2 separate regions of the Homo sapiens genome follow, and region 2 is linked to region 1. The links are contacts of gene promoters, found by promoter capture Hi-C in human tissues and cell types (Jung and others, 2019). All regions are on one chromosome and are shown on one strand. The core of a region is centred on a gene start or on the middle of the fragment in contact, and the rest is flanking DNA. Distances in the headings are between cores, read along the strand shown. Region 1 holds the start of CDC23 (cell division cycle 23). Region 2 overlaps HNRNPA0 (heterogeneous nuclear ribonucleoprotein A0).

Region 1 (4,962 bases), core at 1,776-4,275:
GGTGGATCAGCTGAGTTCAGGAATTCAAACCAGCCTGGCCAACACGGTGAAACCCCATCTCTACTAAAAATACAAAAAATTAGCTGGGTGTGGTGGCACACGCCTGTAGTCCCAGCTACTCAGGAGGCTGAGGAAGGAGAATCCCTTGAACCTGGGAGGCAGAGGCTGCAGTGAGCCGAGATCAAACTACTGCATTCCAGCCTGGGTGACAGAGCAACATTCCATCTCAAAAAAATAAATAAACAAAATAAAGTAAATAAATCACAGTTTTAAGGTTTACTCTAGTTTACACTTTAGATCAAAACATTACTCTGGGGTTTTTCAGAGATAGTCCCTAGAGAAGACCTGAAAACACTAAGTACACAACAAATTGGTAAAGAGGCTGCTGAATCAATCATTCTCACAGCAAACTGAAAGCTATTCAACAAACCAATAGCTAATACTTTACAATAATTCAATAATGGTCAGGTTTCTGCAATGTCTGTAAAATCCCTGTATATAATACAAACCCTCAGGAGAGGGTGATATTTACTGAGGCTCTACTTCTCAATAAATATGCTTTATTTACTCATTCAATAGTTATTTATCCTATTTAGGGAACACTTATACACTGTTGATGGAACTGTTAAGTTAGTTCAGCCTCTGAACTAACAGAGTTCACAGATTTTTCAAAGAACTAAAAACAGAATTACCATTTGACTCAGCAATCCCATTACTGGGTATATACCCAAAGGAAAATAAATTATTCTACCAAAAAAACATCTGCACTCGCATGTTTACCACAGCACTATTCACAATGGCAAAGACATGGAATCAATCTAGGTGCCCATCAATGGTGCACTAAAGAAAATGTGGTACATATACACCATGGAATACGACACAGCCATAAAAAAGAACAAAATCATGTCCTTTGCAGTAACATGGATGCAGCTAGAGGCCATTATCCAAAGTGAATTAACACAGAAATAGAAACCCAAATACAGCATGTTCTCACTTACAAGTGGAAGCTGATCACTGGGTACACACGGACTTAAAGATGGGAACAACAGACACCAGGGACTCCAAGAGTGGGGAAGGAGGAAAGCAAAGGGTGAAAACTATCTGGCCAGGTCCCAGCACTTTGAGAGGCCAAGGTAGGTGGATCACCTGAAGTCAGGAGTTCCAGACCAGCCTGGTAAACAGGGTGAAACCCTGTCCCTACTAAAAATACAAAAAGTTACCCAGGCGTGGTGACGGGTGCCTGTAATCCGAGCTACTCGGGAGGTTGAGGCAGGAGAATTGCTTGAACCCGGGAGGCAGAGGTTGCAGTGAGCCATCATGCCATTGCACTCCAGCCTGGGCAACAAGAGCAAGACTCCGTCTCAAAAAAAAAAAAAAGTAAAATAAAATAAAACTGTCTATCAGGTATTATGTTCACTATTTGGATGATGGGTTCAACTGAAGCCCAACCTCAGAATCACACAATATATCCATGTAGCAAATCTGCACAAGTAACCCCTGAATCTAAAATTTAAACAACAAAAACAATTATTTATCCTATTCAGGACCAACGATGGGCCTAGGCATTATGAAAGTGGGCACAAGAGTAAAAGCTAATGAGACAAATATAAACTGCATTGACTCAAAAAATTTACCTAAGAGTATACCGTATGCTTTACCCTTATTGCTTTATTTAATCTTCTTGAAAATGCAGCAATTATTAACATTATCTATAGATGAGAAGGCTGTCACTTAGAAATCATTTGCCCACATTGGTGCTGCTAATAAAGAACTTGACCGAAATATAGATGCAAGCACCAGGCACACTTCTAAGCGGTCTATATTATTATCTCATTGACTTCTCTCAATATCCCCATTGAGTAGATACTATTACTATCGTCACTGCACAGATGAGGAAACTGGCTCAGAAGGTTAAGTTGCCAAAGGTCATTTGAACCCAGAGTCGTCTCAATCCAGCACCCAAACTTAACCATTATTTGCTATGCTGATCAGACAACAGTGTAGGTATTGTAAAAACTTTATTTATTTATTATTTATTTTGAGACAGTGTCCCGCTCTGCCCTCGGGCTGGAGTGCAATGGCGCGATCTCAGCTCACTGCAACCTTCGCCTCCCGGGTTTAAGCGATTCTCCTGTCTCAGCCTCCCGAGTAACTGGGATTACAGGCGCGCGCCACCATGTCCGGCTAATTTTGTATTTTTACTAGAGACGGGGTTTCACCGTGTTGGCCAAGCTGGTCTCGAACTCCTAACCTCGTGATCCGCCCACCTCGGCCTCCTAAAGTGTTGGGATTACAGGCGTGAGCCACCGCGCCAGACCAAAACTTTTGATTCTTCTCATCCTTTTGGGTATTTATTATGAGATATCCTTATAATAATTCCTTATAATAATATTTACTATTATGAGGCACTCTTATGTCTAGGTTTGGCTATAAGCCCTAAAAGGCTGAAATCATAAGCAGTAATTGTTTACTAATTCTCCCCAGCTTTAAATAAGAGCACCACCAAGTCTTTCAAAGCTCAAGAAAACTAAATGGATAAAATCATTTAAAACACTCAGCTCTTTGAATGCCTGAATTCCCTCTACAAACATTTCTGCTAAGCAGTTTGCTCTCCTCCAGTGACAGGGCACTCAGTGGCTCTTGAGGCACACCCCTGGGTTGATGGGGAGCGCTCACTGTAAACATGTCCTTACCTCTGTAATAGGCGGAGGCGGTTGCAGCTCGGCCAGAGGCAATGCAGGGAGAGAGAAAGCCAACTCCGCCGACCTGGAACACCCACACAAACTAGATCAGCTCGACAAGCCCCCCAAGGCCAAGGATCCAAGCCCCGTCCCTTCCCACTCCAACATCTCACCATTTGCTACTGTGTAGTAGGCCCCGCTCCCGGGTAAGGCCCGCAATAAGCAGCAGTTGCTTTTTAATTTCCCGCAAATCTGAGAAATCGCTGTTTATGGACAGGACAGGCGCCACTGCCGCCGTCACAGCCACCGGGACCATGGAGGTACTCGCAGCCATTTTCCCGACTCGGGCCACTCCAGCCAATCATCGGCGATAATACTGGCTGCCCATCTGCACCAAAAATATCTGCCTGTCATTGGCCGGCTCTTGCTCCGGAAAAACCAATCATAGGTCTTATTTCTGAAACGTCACGAAGAGGCGGGGGAAAAGAAACAACTACATCCCCAAATGGCCAAGAGCTACTGAGGCGGGAAAATTAGAAAATAGGCGGGGCGAGGGAGAAGCCACGACCTCTGGGCGGGGCGGGGAAGAGGGGAATGAGTGACTGGGAAAAGTAAACTGGGAAGCTAGGGGTGGGAGTAGGGGCAAGAAAGGGTGGAGAAGGGAGAGTGCCTTTCACGGGTGATGTGATTGGATGAAAAATAGAAAGGGTGTAGTTTCAGGGCCGACTCTGTACCAGATAATGACAAAGTGATGTATATGCTAGGAAAGATGCATGGTAGCCTCTGGATTCTTCCTTAAAATAGGAGGATGTATCGCCCCATGTGGAGGATTTTTCCTCTTTGTCTACCCTTTCTTACCCCGGGTAGCCCGGGGAGGTGGGGGTGAGAGCATTGTTCTGTAACATTTATTTAACAATAATTGTTAACATTTCACATTTATTGAGGGTTTATCCTACAACAGGTTCTGCTCTTTTACAACTATAATCTGGTTTAATCCTAAAAACAGCACTATGATATTCGTATCATCCCAATTTTATAGAAAGAAAAACGGAAGCTCGGCCAGGCGCGGTGGCTCAAGCCTGTAATCCAACACTGTGGGAGGCCGAGGCGGGCGGATCACGAGGTCAGGAGATCGAGACCATCCTGGCCAACACGGTGAAACCCCGTCTCTACTAAAAATACATAAAAATTAGCCGGGCGTGGTGGCACGTGTCTGTAGTCCCAGCTACTCGGCAGGCTGAGGCAGGAGAATCGCTTGAACCTGGGAGGCGGAGGTTGCAATGAGCCGAGATCGTGCCATTGCACTCCAGCCTGGGCGACAGAGCGAGACTCCGTCAAAAAAAAAAAAAAAAAAAAACAAAACCAGAAAAGAAAAAAAAGAAAAAACGGAAGCTCAGAGAAGTTCTATCACTCTTCCAAGGAGAGAGTCTAGACTATAAACCAGATTTTACTCCAAAGCCCAATGTTCTTAAACATTACATGAACATTTTCGGCGTTTTTTGGTTTTTATCCTTTCATAGTAGTATACTATCTTACCAACCCCTCGGGAATTTTTTTTGAAACCATTTTGTCATTCACTGGGTGTTATATAGAAGTTATCTATTTTTAAATTGTTATTTTATTATTTTATTTATTTTAAGAAAGGGTCTCGGCCGGGCGCGGTGGCTCACGCCGGTAATCCCAGCACTTTGCGAGGCGAAGGCGGGCGGATCACGAGGTCAGGAGATCAAGACCATCTTGGCTAACACGGTGAAACCCCTGTCTCTACTAAAAATACAAAAAAAAAAAAAATTAGCCGGGCGTGGTGGCAGGCACCTGTAGTCCCAGCTACTCTGGAAGCTGAGACAGAATGGCGTGAACCTGGGAGGCGGAGCTTGCAGTGAGCAGAGATCGCGCCACTGCACTCCAGCCTGGGCGACAGAACGAGACTCTGTCTCAAAAAAAAAAAAAAGAAAGAAGGTCTCGTTCTGTCATCCAGGCTGGAGTGGCCGCGGCCCGATCAAGGCTCACTGCATCCTCAAACTCCTGGGCTCCAGTGATCCTGCCGCCTCAGCCTCCCAAGTAGCTGGGACCACAGGTGTGTGTCACGACACCCAGCTAATTTTTTTTTTTTTTGTAATTTTCGTAGGGACAGAATCTCCCTATGTTGCCCAGGCTGGTCTCAAACTCCTGGGCTTAAATGATCCTCTCGCCTTGCCCTCCCAAAGTTCTGGGATTACAAGCATAAGCCACCATGCCCAGCCCATTTTACCCTTTAAAAAAATCAATTTGCGGGCCTATA
Region 2 (4,962 bases), core at 1,039-3,538, 470 kb before region 1:
TATGCAAATTATACCTCAATAAATCTGGAAAAATGAAAAAACACTACAGGGTCCGGCTCTTCCTCACACCCATAGAATCAGGGCCTGAGGAACAGGAATTTTTTTAATTTTTTTCCTTTAGTTTTAGAGACGGGGTCTCTCTATGTTGCCCAGGCTGGTCTCGAACTCCTTGGGCTCAAGCAGTGCTCCCGCCTCAGCCTCCCAAAACGCTGGGATGGACAGGTGTGAGCTATCGCACCCACTAGGAACGGGAATTTTAATGAACTTCGTAGGTGACTCTAATGCACAGCTAGATGCAAACATCACCTGAACAATGAAAAGAGCCCAGACCATTAAAATCAGACAGGGCAAGGTCCAAATGTACTTACCAGAAACATGACCCTAGGCAAGTTACAAGCTTCGATTTTTCTCATTCGAAAAAAGGTGAGAACAATAGTACCTACTTCACAGCATTGTTAGGTTAGAATGTAAAGCACTTAGCTGAGAGCCTGGCCTATAATAAGCACTCAGCAACCATTAGTAGCTATGATTTTCATTGTCTGTGCCAATGCTACCGAACCTGAGCACTCGGTCCTAGGTTCAAGAAGAAAATTAACCAGGGTAGGGCCTCTCCTGGAGCTATTTTCACATCTCCACTGGTTACTATTACCAACAGGTCAGCAAGGAGTAGACAAGACCAAAGCTAAATTAAGGTCCACCCACACCTGTATCACCAAAATGCCCTCTCATATTCAGGAGCACTTGCCAAGTGCCCTCAGACAGCCAGGCAGAAACTGAAAAGGAACTTGAGACCCCAAAAAGTCAAAAGAGAAACAAAACAGCACCTTATCCAGAGGAATAAGGACTCTTCCTCTGAAGGTAAAAGAATTCACGCCAAGTAGATTCCAGAGTATAATCACTCATGCCATTTGTGTTGCATTTTTAAGCTTACAAAGTGCTTCATATCCATCATCTCCTTTGACTTAAGACAACATCCCCTGAATGGTAATAATAGCTCCCATTCCTTGAATATTTACTCTGGGCCAGACCCTGTATTCCACACTTCACATGTACCCTTGTCATTTAATTCTCACAACCCTGTAGGACTATTATTTCTCTTTTAAACATGAGAGAATCGAGGTTCTGAGAGTTAAATAACTTGAACCAAGGCCCCACAGTTAGTAAATGGCAAAGCTGGAATTTGAACCCAGGTCTGCCTGACCTAAGAGACCACTATTAGCTATACACAGAATGTACTACCCCTATCTTACTGTCTCCATTTTAGAGATAAGCTAATTGAGACAGAGAGAAAAGGTAACTGGCTCAAAACTACTTAGAGAGCCAACCTCAGTGCAGAACCAGACCCTCAGATGCCTGGCCTAATGCCTTTTTCACCTTACCTCTGGATGAGGAAAAACAGCTTTGAACCCCTAAAGATATTACATACAAGCTGGCATCCAAGGCTTCCAAACAGCTACTATAATAAAGTCCTTCCACCTGGATTCATCTGGGCACCTAGCTTATTAACCAGGACTAGCCAAAGAATGCTCTTGGGGAAAGCTGGAAGAGTACCACTGGAACCCAAGGGAATTAAAAAAAAAAAAAAAAAAAAGGCGGGTGGGTGGGGGGCAGACCAACTAAAGCAACAAGCAGAGTGCTTCACACAGACCAGCACACTGGTCTCTGAGTCTTCCCATGAATCTGCAACCTACAACTGGTGCCCTCTGCTGGCAAAAGTATACATCTCTTCATAACAAAAGTAAAACCTAATTACTACAACTGGGGCTTAAGAAGGAAAAAAATATATGCTTCCTTCACAGACATTCTATTCAGGAATGAACATTATTTCTTACTTACAACTTTCCAATAGGCATATGCAACTTTAAATTGACTGCAATGATCCTCTCCTCTATCTGCTGCCCCTGCCTCACGCCTGCAGTTCTTTCCTTTCGGGATCCAAAGAAAATTGGGCTGTTTTACATAAAAAGGTAAAATATAAATGAATGATGCAAAGCCCTAAAGTCAAGAATACAGTGATGTGTATGTGGGTGAGATCAGGTCTGCACATCTAGCAAGTACAGAGAATTGAGGCAGGCACACACTTGAAGTGATATAAAACCCATGGGCACGTATGCTCAAACATTTTGGTAAATCTCTACCTTCGTAAAATAGCATGCTTATGATTCAGTCAACTAAGTCTCACTGAATATCTACTATGCAGGCTGTACCAGAGACTGACAACATAAATCCTATATTAATATAATTCCAAAGAGCACACAAGCTGTTTGAGAAAATTAGACATAGGCATATACAATGGTAAAAAGTATGAGAGTCAAGTACAGAAAGGGTATCATGGAAACTTGGTGGGAGAAGAGGCAACTTCCAGTTGGGGAGAGGGTGGATGACATGAGAATAGAAATAAATTGAGAACTTAATAATTCTATGGAGTTTTTAAAAGGTATTCATAATTGTAAATATTTGCAAATAGGTAATTTCAACGTCCCATGATTTCATTTAAAAAATTTTTTTGGCCGGGCATGGTGGCTCACACCTGTAATCCCAGCACTTTGGGAGGACAAGGAGAGAGGACCGCTTGAGCACAGTAGTTTTGAGACCAGCCTGGGGAACATGGTAAGACCTCATCTCTACAAAAAAAATTTTAAAACTTAACCAGGCATAGTGGTGTGCACCTGTAGTCCTAGCTACTTGGAAGGCATGGGCAGAGGGATCACCTGAGCCCAGGAGTTTGAGGCTGCAGTGAGCCATGATTGCACCACCACTGTGCTACAGCCTGGGCAACAGGGCAAGCCCTTGTCTTTAAAAAAATATTTAAAAGATACAATTTTTTCATCCCACTACTTTAATATACTTACATATTTATTATGTTAAATAATATATTTTTTCATTACAATTTCTATTGTGGTAAAATATACATTAAATTTGCCATTTTAGGCCAGGTGTGGTGGCTCACACTTGTAATCCCAGGATTTTGGTAGGCTGAGGTGGGAGGATCACTTGAGCCCAGGAGTTCAATACTAGCCTGGGCAATATAGCAAGACTCCATCTCTACAAAAAGATTTTTTAAATTAGCTAGCTGTGGTGGCGCGTGCCTGTAGTCAGTTCTAGCTACGGGGGAGGCTGAGGTGGGAGGATCACTTGAGCCCACAGTTCGAAGCTCCAGTGAGCTATGATCATGCCACTGCACTCCAGCCTGGGCACCAGAGTAAGACCCGGCCTCCAAAAAAAAGAAAAAAAGCCATTTTAACCATTTTTAAATATACGATTCATCAGCATTAAGTACATTCATAATGTTGTATAACAATCACCACTATCCATTTTCAGAACTTTCTCAACATCTGAAAAGAAATTCTGTATCCCTTAAACAGTAATTTCCCATTTCTATCTCTCTGAATTTGCCTACTCTGGGTACCTCATTTAAGTGCAATCATAGTATGTCCTTTTGTGCAGGCTTATTTCACTTGGCATGTTTTCATTCATCTTGTAGCATATACCAGAAATTTATTCTTTCTTATGGCTGAATATTCCATTGTATGTATATACCACATCTTGTTAATTCATTCACCTGATAACACTGAGTTAATATTTCACCTTTTGACAGACCACAGTTAACATTTCCCTAATATTTGACATTTAGTTTCCAATTTTTTGCTACGTCATAATTTTTATGCAAAGACTGTTTTCCTTTCAATAAATTTTTCAATAAACTGTTCTGTTAAGGTTAAATTCCTAGTAATGGTGTCCCAGAGCATATGAATACTTTAATAGTTCTTAATAAATAAATCCATAATTTTACTCTCCTCATTTGCCATTTTTCATAACCTGATGGACAAATTCCGGTCAGCAGTTTGTTACAAATGTATAAAGTGTGACAAAACCAAATGGAGGGAAGCTTTTGGAGAAAGAAAAGGAATTAACAAAGCAGAAACAGCTCAGAAGAGCTCTCCACTAGACAGAGCTGGCTGACTTCTGTGACAGGTTGCCCAACTGCTCCTTCTATCCATAACCTGATGTTTTCCAATTAACTTGGTGACTCTTTGAAAAAAAAAAAAAAAATCTGCCTGTGTCAGGGATCCCCCGGACCAAGCCCATATTGAGATTTGATAGAAGGGTTCACAAAACTCAGCACTGCTAAGTATCGTACTCATGGCTAAAGTTTATTACAGTGACACAGTAAGTGTACACAGTTGGATCATACAGGAAAAAGACATAAGCAGAATCTGGAGGAATCCATGTGCAGGCTTCTTTAGGATCTCTCCCTCCCATGAAGATTCACACAGAGCACATTTTTATACGAGGGATGTTTCTGCCTAGGGACTCAGTATGCAAGGTTTTCATTGGGAGTTTGGTCATATAGACATCCTTTACCTGGCATGTACCAAAATTCCATACTCCCAGAAGGAAAGCAGGTGTTTAGCATAAATCATCTTGTTTGAACAGTCTAGGTACAGTGAACCACCTTTATTAGTGAACAGTGAGAATACCCCTAAATCCACGTGTTCAGATAAGGGCCAACCATGCAAGTAGGCCACTCTAAAAGATACCAGCCTCAGGCCAGATATAACTTTTTCTGCACACCCCCAATTCAAGATTCATTTTGGCCAAAAAGCAGCATCTCTCAACATATATATGTAGATACCTATGGTAGAGTTGAAAAGATTGTGGATCACTTATACCTTATCCAAGTAGTTCTGATTGCTTTCCTTATAAACCTTCATTGAAAGCAGCTGTATGAAAGGAATAGGAATTTTGGGAAACACATCTTTTAAAATTCAAATCAGATCATGGAACTCCTCTGCTCAAAACTGAAATGGTTCACCATTCATTTAGTGAAAACCAAAATCCTTACAACAACCTACAAATCCCTACATGATCTGGCCCCTCTGGCCTCATTATTCCTTTCCTCCTCTTCCTTCAGGTCCAACAACCCTGAACAATTTGCATTTCTTCAGAGGCCAGACACAG

What was found. The method cuts DNA at HindIII sites, captures the fragments that hold promoters and counts their contacts. A contact is called where the count stands out against the background at its distance.
Region 2: a contact is called between a fragment that was not itself captured here and the fragment with the promoter of CDC23 in region 1, in 1 of the 25 tissues and cell types used here (dorsolateral prefrontal cortex).

The regions. Positions count from the first base shown.
Region 1 is chr5:138,210,298-138,215,259 of GRCh38, forward strand. CDC23 (cell division cycle 23) reads right to left here and starts at 3,026. Exons shown (of 16, transcript NM_004661.4): 1 at 2,855-3,026; 2 at 2,694-2,766. The coding sequence starts at 3,015. RefSeq lists an enhancer at 3,043-3,337. The HindIII fragment of the contact is 12,003 bases long and covers 1-4,962 here.
Region 2 is chr5:137,741,518-137,746,479 of GRCh38, forward strand. HNRNPA0 (heterogeneous nuclear ribonucleoprotein A0) reads right to left here. Exons shown (of 1, transcript NM_006805.4): 1 at 4,134-4,962. Among named protein-coding and RNA genes, the nearest start is that of KLHL3, 7.9 kb to the left of the region's middle. The HindIII fragment of the contact is 5,717 bases long and covers 1-4,962 here.